Regions from separate parts of the Homo sapiens genome. Here all the other regions are linked to region 3. Evidence: promoter capture Hi-C in human tissues and cell types (Jung and others, 2019). All regions are on one chromosome and are shown on one strand. The core of a region is centred on a gene start or on the middle of the fragment in contact, and the rest is flanking DNA. Distances in the headings are between cores, read along the strand shown. Region 1 holds the start of NCLN (nicalin). Region 2 holds the start of CELF5 (CUGBP Elav-like family member 5). Region 3 holds the start of ZNF57 (zinc finger protein 57).

Region 1 (2,701 bases), core at 100-2,599, 290 kb after region 3:
AGGTGCTCAGTGACCCAGCAGCACACTCAGAAACTCCCTTTCTAGCCGGGCGCGGTAGCTCACGCCTGTAATTTACAGCTACTCAGGAGGCTGAGACACAGGAATTGCTTGAACCCAGGAGGTGGAGGTTGCGGTGAGCTGAGATCAAGCCACTGCACTCCAGCCTAGGTGACAGAGACTACATCTCAAAAACAAACAAACAAACAAACAAACAAACAGAATTCTCACATGCTGCTGGCAGGGAGAGTGCTTGATTCTTTATCATTATATCTGAGGAAACTGAGACTCTGAGAGGTGAAGCGACTTGCCCAAAGCCACACAGCTGGGAAATGGAGGAGTTGGGATTTGAGCCCAGGCTCTTAATCGGCACCAATGCCACTTCTCACTTGGGACAGAAAGGAAGCCCTGACTCCTTAGGCAGCTGTACGGAGCCTGGGATGATAACGTGCTGAGAGCCAGGGCTACTGTCTGCTGCACCCTGGGGCTCAGTCTCCCCATCTGTACAAAGGGACGTTCCTTAGGTACCTCCAGCCCTGAGACACTGGGTTTTAACTTTAAATTTCTGATGAACAACAAATACTTTTTTAGTATAAGTATGCCCCAAATATGAATAAAGATAAATATAAATACCTGCCACCGACCCCTGCACAAACCGCAGGTTCCAGACTACAAGTCCCACAACCCACTGCGGCCTCCCTTAGGAACTGACTATCATGACTTTCTATTTTTCATTCATTCATTCAAAAATGGTATAGGCCACCCGCCGTGCGCCAGGTCTTGTGCTAGATGCCGGGGATACATCATATGCACAAAACAGACAAAAGTTTTTGCCTTCGTGGAGTTTGACATCTACATCCTCGGGAGTTTTAAGTGATTTTTGTTTTTCTCAGCAATTTCTGCCAGGACGACTACAGTTCCCGTGACCCTTTGTGTGTTTGACGGGACTACAACTCCCAGAAGACCTAGCGCGCCAGGCAGGCACTTCCTTTTCTCTTTATCCCCAACTTCCTTCCAGGTCGCAAGGTCACGTCCTGTCCCCACCTTTCGCCCCTCACCCTAGCTCCCCCAACGCCAAAGACAAGGTTAAGAAAGTGATATCGCGAAATAGTTTTTTAAAGCATTTTATTGCATTTTATGACTTGGAGTTTATGTGAAACCTCAACGGTATTAGCCGAACAGCCTGCCGCACCTTCCGGGAGTTCCAGAGTGGGCCTACAACTCCCACAGGGCTCCGCGAGCGCCGGACGGACGGACTACAATTCCCGACAGGCAGCGCGGCTGGCGGGGCGGTTCGCCGCGGTGCCCACAGGACCTCAGGGCGAGTGCGGGCTGCCCCGCGCGGCGCCCGCAGGACCCCGGCGGCTACCCATGCCGAGGTGAGTCCGCGGGAGCCGCCGCCGCCGCCGTCCCGTCCCAGCTGCCGCCCCGCGCGGCCCCGCCGCCGGCCAGGATGCTGGAGGAAGCGGGCGAGGTGCTGGAGAACATGCTGAAGGCGTCTTGTCTGCCGCTCGGCTTCATCGTCTTCCTGCCCGCTGTGCTGCTGCTGGTGGCGCCGCCGCTGCCTGCCGCCGACGCCGCGCACGAGTTCACCGTGTACCGCATGCAGCAGTACGACCTGCAGGGCCAGCCCTACGGTGCGTGTCCCCGGCCCACCCTCGGGGCTCCCCGGGCTCCCCGGCCACGCCACTCCGGCCCGGCGATCCCCAGGCCGATCCCTAGCTCCGGCCTGGGCTGCCCGACCCATGCTCAGGCCCCAGGCGAGGCAGAGCCCTGCCGCCCTGGACCCCCGGGCGCCCTGGAATCCCTGCTCTCCTTGCCTAGCGCCCAGGGACCCCCCGCGCTCGCTCCCACAGCCCCCGGCCCCTGCCTAGGTCTCCCTGCCCCGGAACCCATGGCCGGGCCAAGCGTCCCGCGTCCCTGGAGCCCTAAGTCCCCTCTCTCCTGTCCCCAGCTGGGCCGGCGTCTGCCTGCCTTGCCGAGTTTCTCCCTCCTGGGCCCCCTCCGCCCCTTAGGCTTCCTGGTCCGGGCTCACTTGAGCAGACGCTCCCGTCCTGACCTCCAGCTCCCAGGGTCCTGTTCTGGAGACCATCTGGTTGGTCTCTGGATTCACTGGGTCACGTCCGTGTTCCCAGGCCTCTCGCCTTTAGCTGACTGCGTTTGGAGTTAAAGGTCCCTGCACTGATTTCTGCCAGGCTGAGCCACCCGACGCGGTGGTCCAGCATTCCCCACCCCCTCCCACGGCCCTGGGTGCCAAGTGCATTTTGTCCAGTGCCCAAATTCAACTCCCCTGAATTTTCTCGCTCTAGTCACCGGCCCCCACGTCAAGGGCACATTTGTCCCCAGACCCCTGACGCTCTCTGGTCCCAGTTCGTGAGTCATGTTTCAGAATCTGCTAGCCCAGCTTCCCTGGTCTCCTCCCACGTCCCCAGTTCAGTCCACTCGCCTGGGGTTCCCTTTGACCCCCTTTCTGTCCCGCCTTTGATGCATACCCACGCCCTCAGCTCAGCCTCCTCACACCCACTTCCCAGAACCCCACTTGTTCCATCTTTCCAGGATTTCCTCTTCCCTTTCCAAATTCGCACCCCCTTGCCCTTGCATTCTGCAAGTCTCCCACTCAACAGCCTCGCCCCCTCCCGTCGTGGCCCTGACCCCAGTGTCTAGACCATTCCACATCCCCTTGTCTTTGCCTGGCTATAGCTGT
Region 2 (2,700 bases), core at 83-2,582, 320 kb after region 3:
CCGCCTCCCGGGTTCAAGCGATTTTCCTGCCTCAGCCTCCTGAGTAGCTGGGATTACAGGCATGCACAACCATGCCTGGCTAATTTTTGTGTTTTTAGTAGAGACAGAGTTTTCTCCATGTTGATCAGGCTGGTCTCGAACTCCTGATCTCAGGTGATCCACCTGCCTCAGCCTCCCAAAGTGCTGGGATTACAGGTGTGAGCCATCGTGCCTGGCCTGTTTTCTTATTTTTTACAGCAATGGCGTCTCACTATGTTGCTCAGGCTGGTCTCCAACTCCTGGGCTCAAGTGGTCCTCCTGACTCTGCTTCTCAAAGTGCTGGGATTACAGGTGTGAGCCACCACGGCCAGCACGTATTATTATTTTTATTAATATTATTGATGAGTTTCATACGTAAAGGATCACGGGCACTTTAGAGCTGGGAGATACTTCAGTATTTCTCCTATCCTGTCATTATCAGTGCGAGCCAGTCTCCCTCCTTGTTGATGACATTATTGATGAGTTACATACTTAAAGGGCCAAGGACACTTTCTATGTGTAAGCACCCTATAGAACTGGAAGATACTTTTACCATTTCTCCTGTGCTGTCGTGATTAGTGGGAGCACTTTGTCTTGCTCTTGATTAATTATTATTAGTGTTGTTATTATTAGGTGTTTTTTTTTTTTTTTTTTACCAAGACGGAGTTTTGCTCTTGTTGCCCAGGCTGGAGTACAATGGCACAATCTTGGCTCACTGCAACCTCCGCCTCCTGGGTTCAAGTGATTATCCTGCCTCAGCCTCCCGAGTAGCTGGGATTACAGGCACCCCCCGCCACCGAGCCCAGCTAATTTTTGTATTCTTTAGTAGAGACGGGGTTTCACCGTGTTAGCCAGTCTGGTCTCGAACTCCTGACCTCAAGTGATCCACCCACCTCGGCCTCCCAAAGTGCTGAGATGACAGGCGTGAGCCACCGCGCCCAGCCATATTATTAGTGTTATTAATATTATTGATGAGTTACCTACTTTAAGGATCACGGGCGCTTTCAACGACAAGCCCCCTACATTATCCCAGCAACTTTTGACATTCTTCCGGCCGATGCCCTCCGCGGGAGCCGGCGGGGACCCCTGGGAAGCCGGCTAAGGCCCGTCCCGCCCGCAGCTCCGCCCTCGCCCACCCGTAGGCGGGGCCCGGGGCCTTCCGGCCTCAGTTTCCCCCCGCGGCCCGGGGATGCGGGGAGGCGCCGGCTGCCCCGCGCGGCGCGGCCGCCAGGGGCCGCTGCGGAGCCGCCTTTGTGGTCCCGATGCCGGGGCGGGCGCGGGCGGGAGGAGGGCGCGGGGGCCCGGGAGGGAGGCGGGAGGCGCGGCCGCCGCTCCAGCTGCGAGTCCGCCCGCCGCCCGCCGCCGCCGCCGCCGGCTCGGTCCCGCGCCCGCCATGGCCCGCCTGACGGAGAGCGAGGCGCGCCGGCAGCAGCAGCAGCTCCTGCAGCCGCGGCCCTCGCCCGTGGGCAGCAGCGGGCCCGAGCCCCCCGGGGGGCAGCCCGACGGCATGAAGGACCTGGACGCCATCAAACTCTTCGTGGGCCAGATCCCGCGGCACCTGGACGAGAAGGACCTCAAGCCGCTCTTCGAGCAGTTCGGCCGCATCTACGAGCTCACGGTGCTCAAAGACCCCTACACGGGGATGCACAAAGGTGGGCGCCCGGCCCCCTCCCCCCTCTCCCCCTCCCTCCGCCTCCCACCCCACCTTCCGGCATCTTCTCTCCCCCATCACCATCCCTCCTCTGCTCACCTCCCTCCTCTGCCTGCCTCTGCCGGAGCATCGGTTCTTACCCCCTCCCTCCCACCCACCCCTCCTCCCCTCTCTGGGGGTGCAGCTGACAGATCCGAGCGGGCCCCCTCCCCTCCTCCGCCCCCTCTCCCTCCCTCCCCACCTTCCGGCATCTCCTCTCTCTCTCCCTCTCTCTCTCCCTCTCTCTCTCCCTTTCTCTTCTCTCCCATCTCCCTCGACCTCTCATCCTTCCCCCCACAGCACCCTCTCTCTCCCTCCCTCCCTCCCTCACCCTTCCATCCCCCAGACCCCCACCCCTTCCTCCCTCCCTCACCCCACTCTTTCCTGCCCGTTTGCCAGGGGAGCCTCGGGAACGCCGGCACCCCTCCCTGCCCCCCCACCCCCATTCATTCAGCCTCCCCAGGCCCCGTCGGGGAAGTTTGCACCTGCGGACTCCATTGCTTTGGTTATTTTCACAAAGCCAGGCCGGCGGGGCAGGTCCGGCCGCGGGGGACACGGATGCCCAGGACCCCAGGCTAATCGGTAACTACAAAGGAAGACGGGTTGGGGGCGCCCGGCTCGGGGGGACGCGCCCGCCTCGCCTGCCTCGGGTGGCGGAGAGGCTCCCGTCGCTGCCCACCCCCTGGCCCCACCACCTCCGCGTGGATCAGCATTCTCTCCTCCATTTCTCTGCCCTCCCCCTCCCCCGCCTCCACCTTGGGCTCAAGTTGAAACTGGCCGAGCCTCTTAGCAATGTGTTGGGGTCTCAGGCCCAAGACAATGAGCTTGGACGTGTCCATCTGGGCAGAGCCCAAATTCTGGGGTGGACAGGGAGGAGGAGGGAGGCGTGGGCGGCCTCAGGCCTGTCTGCCTCCCTCCCACTGGATTCTCCCTCCGATGGCATCCCGGGTGGGGGTGTCCGGCAATTGTATCCCCAGCCCTTGGTTCCCATC
Region 3 (2,700 bases), core at 124-2,623:
GATCACGAGGTCAGGAGTTCAAGACCAGCTTGGCCAACATAGTGAAACCCCCGTCTCTACTAAAAATACAAAAATTAGCCGGACGTGGTGGCAGGCGCCTGTAATCTCAGCTACTCGGGAGGCTGAGGCAGGAGAATCGCTTTAACCCTGAAGGCGGAGGTTGCAGTGAGCCGAGATCACGCCACTGCACTCCAGCCGGGGCGACAGTGTGAGACTCCGTCTCAAAATAAAAAAATAAATAAAACAAAAAACAATGTCCAACAAAAAAACAAATCCAGCGAGGCCAGACAGGATAGGGGCTCCCTGGGGTCCGCCCATTTTCGGGATCAGGTGACTCGAGGTTTGGTCCTTATTTTAGTGCAGGCTCAGATGTCGGGGGCGAGCCAAAGTGCAGGGGCCTGTGGGAAGGACAGGAGGCTGGGAAACGTTTGGGTAAAAAAATCAGGACACTGGCCGTGCGCGGTGGCTCACGCCTGTAATCCCAGCACTTTGGGAGGCCGAGGCGGGCCGATCACGAGGTCAGGAGATCGAGACCATCCTGGCTAACACGGTGAAACCTCGTCTCTACTAAAAATACAAAAAAATTAGCCGGCGTGGTGGCGGGTGCCTGTGTCCCAGCTACTCGGGAGGCTGAGGTAGGAGAATGGCCTGAACCCGGGAGGCGGAGCTTGCAGTGAGCCGAGATGGCGCCACTGCACTCCAGCCTGGGCGACAGAGCGAGACTCCACCTCAAAAAAAAAAAAAAAAAAAAAAAAAAAAATCAGGACACTGACAGCACGTGCTCCAGCACGGGGCAGGGCCTCCATGGGGTCCGCGCCCACGCGGGGCAGCGCGGTGACGTCACGGCTGAGGACCCCGCCCCACGAAGGGCTCACCCCACGCGACCCACGCCGCTCGCTCGCCCCTCCCCTCCACGCAGCACTCCGGCTGCTCCGTGGGGAAACTGAGTCTGGACTTCTCGTGCCCGTTCGGGAGAAGGACGCGGGAGGCGCGGCCGAGCTGCGGGGAGAGGTTGGGCTCACCCCGGGCCAGAGCGAGTTCGCGCAAACGGGAGTGTCCACCGCTGGCGGGTCAGCCACTAGCGTTGGCTACGCGCCGGTCACTCGGGCGACAGGAGGCGGGGCGGCGCGGAAGTTATCTTCCAATCAGGTGCTCCGGGGGCGGGTCCGGAAAACTGTCCAATCAAGGCACGGGGCGGACACCGGGAAGCGGATTGCAGGTTTGCAGTAGTGTCCAATCGAAGGCCCCAGGGGTGAAGGGGGCGTGTCCAAAACGCTGTCCGCTCAGAGCGTTGAAAGGGCGGGGGCTTAGAGATTGTCCAATCAGGGCGCCGCTTCCTGAGCTCCGAGGCCCCGAGGGCGGGACGTTTCGTCCTCCCTGCCGCGCGTGCCCTGCCTACCACGAGCGGCCCGGGAGTACCTGTACCTTTCAGCTGCGCCGGCCGCGAGGCCACGGAGAGCTCGCCTTGGAGAGCCCAGGAGCAGGGGAGACATGGTGAGTGCGAGGCAGGAGCAGAGCCAGGGGACGGTCGGAGCGACGGGAACCGGCTGGAACCAGAGTCCGCCGAAGTCTGCGGCCGGGATTGGCTGAGGGACGCGCGGGGCGGCGCAGGACTAGCACCTGGGACCCGGGGACGCCATCACAGCGGCCGGGCTGGAGGACTGGGGGCAGTTTGGGGGGACGGAAGGGGCGGCAAGGAGCTTGGGGGTAACTTAGGGGGAGGCCTGGGCAGGAGGGGGGCTGGAGGTAGTTTGGGGGGACGGTAGGGGCGGTCAGGGGTCAGGGACCAGTTTGGGGGGACGGCAAGGGACGGTCAGCAGGTTGGGGATGTTACGCGTGTCCGTATAAGAGGTCACCTGAGCAGGCTTAGTGTGAGCCACAAGGCTGTTTACTCACTTGGGTGCAAGTGGGCTGAGTCTGAGAAAGGACTCAGCAAAGGGTGATGGGATTATTATTGGTTTTATTTTTTTATTTTTTTTATTTTTGGGACGGAGTCCCGCTCTGTCGCCAGGCTGGAGTGCAGTGGCGTGATCTCGGCTCACTGCAACTTCCGCCTCCCGGGTTCAAGCGATTCTCCTGCCTCAGCCTCCGGAGTAGCTGAGATTACAGGCGCCCGCCCTCACGCCCGGCTAATTTTTGTTTTTAGTAGAGACAGGGTTTCACCATGTTGGCCAGAATGGTCTCGATCTCTTGACCTTGTGATCCGCCCGCCTCGGCCTCCCAAAGTGCTGGGATTACAGGCGTGAGCCACCGCGCCCGGCAATCATTAGTCCTTATAGGTTTGGGACAGGCATCGGAGTTAGGAGCAGTTTTTTTGAGGACAGTTGGTGGGTGTTACAAAGTACATTCTCAAGGGCGGCGACGATGTTTCAAAGTACATTCACAAGGGCTTGGGGGATGTATTGTCACAAGGGCTGGGAGGAATATTACAAAGTACCTTCACAAGGGCGCGAGCGTGTATTGTCACAAGGGCGGGGTACATTCACAAGGGCGAGGAGGACGTATCGTACAAAGTACATTCACAAGGGCGGGGGAATATCACAAAGTACATTATCACAAGGGCGGGGGGCTTGACCATGGTGCGGCCAGCTCAGAGAACCTTACAGGGGACAGCTTGGGGGGATGGCAAGGGACGGCCTGGGGGTCAGAGGCAGTTTGGGGGACGACCTCAGCGGTGGGAGTTAGCTGCCCTGGGGGTTT

The links. The method cuts DNA at HindIII sites, captures the fragments that hold promoters and counts their contacts. A contact is called where the count stands out against the background at its distance.
Region 1: a contact is called between the fragment with the promoter of NCLN here and the fragment with the promoter of ZNF57 in region 3, in 1 of the 25 tissues and cell types used here (dorsolateral prefrontal cortex).
Region 2: the fragment with the promoter of CELF5 here is called in contact with the fragment with the promoter of ZNF57 in region 3 in 1 of the 25 tissues and cell types used here (dorsolateral prefrontal cortex).

What each region holds. Positions count from the first base shown.
Region 1 is chr19:3,184,581-3,187,281 of GRCh38, forward strand. NCLN (nicalin) reads left to right here and starts at 1,350. Exons shown (of 15, transcript NM_020170.4): 1 at 1,350-1,634. The coding sequence starts at 1,451. RefSeq lists enhancers at 428-1,310, 617-756 and a silencer at 1,267-1,836. The HindIII fragment of the contact is 11,170 bases long and covers 1-2,701 here.
Region 2 is chr19:3,223,329-3,226,028 of GRCh38, forward strand. It overlaps CELF5 (CUGBP Elav-like family member 5), which reads left to right and starts at 1,333. Exons shown (of 13, transcript NM_021938.4): 1 at 1,333-1,670. The coding sequence starts at 1,412. RefSeq lists a silencer at 1,154-1,273. The HindIII fragment of the contact is 19,492 bases long and covers 1-2,700 here.
Region 3 is chr19:2,899,555-2,902,254 of GRCh38, forward strand. It overlaps ZNF57 (zinc finger protein 57), which reads left to right and starts at 1,374. Exons shown (of 4, transcript NM_173480.3): 1 at 1,374-1,494. The coding sequence starts at 1,492. RefSeq lists a silencer at 762-811 and enhancers at 991-1,562, 1,422-1,571. The HindIII fragment of the contact is 10,438 bases long and covers 1-2,700 here.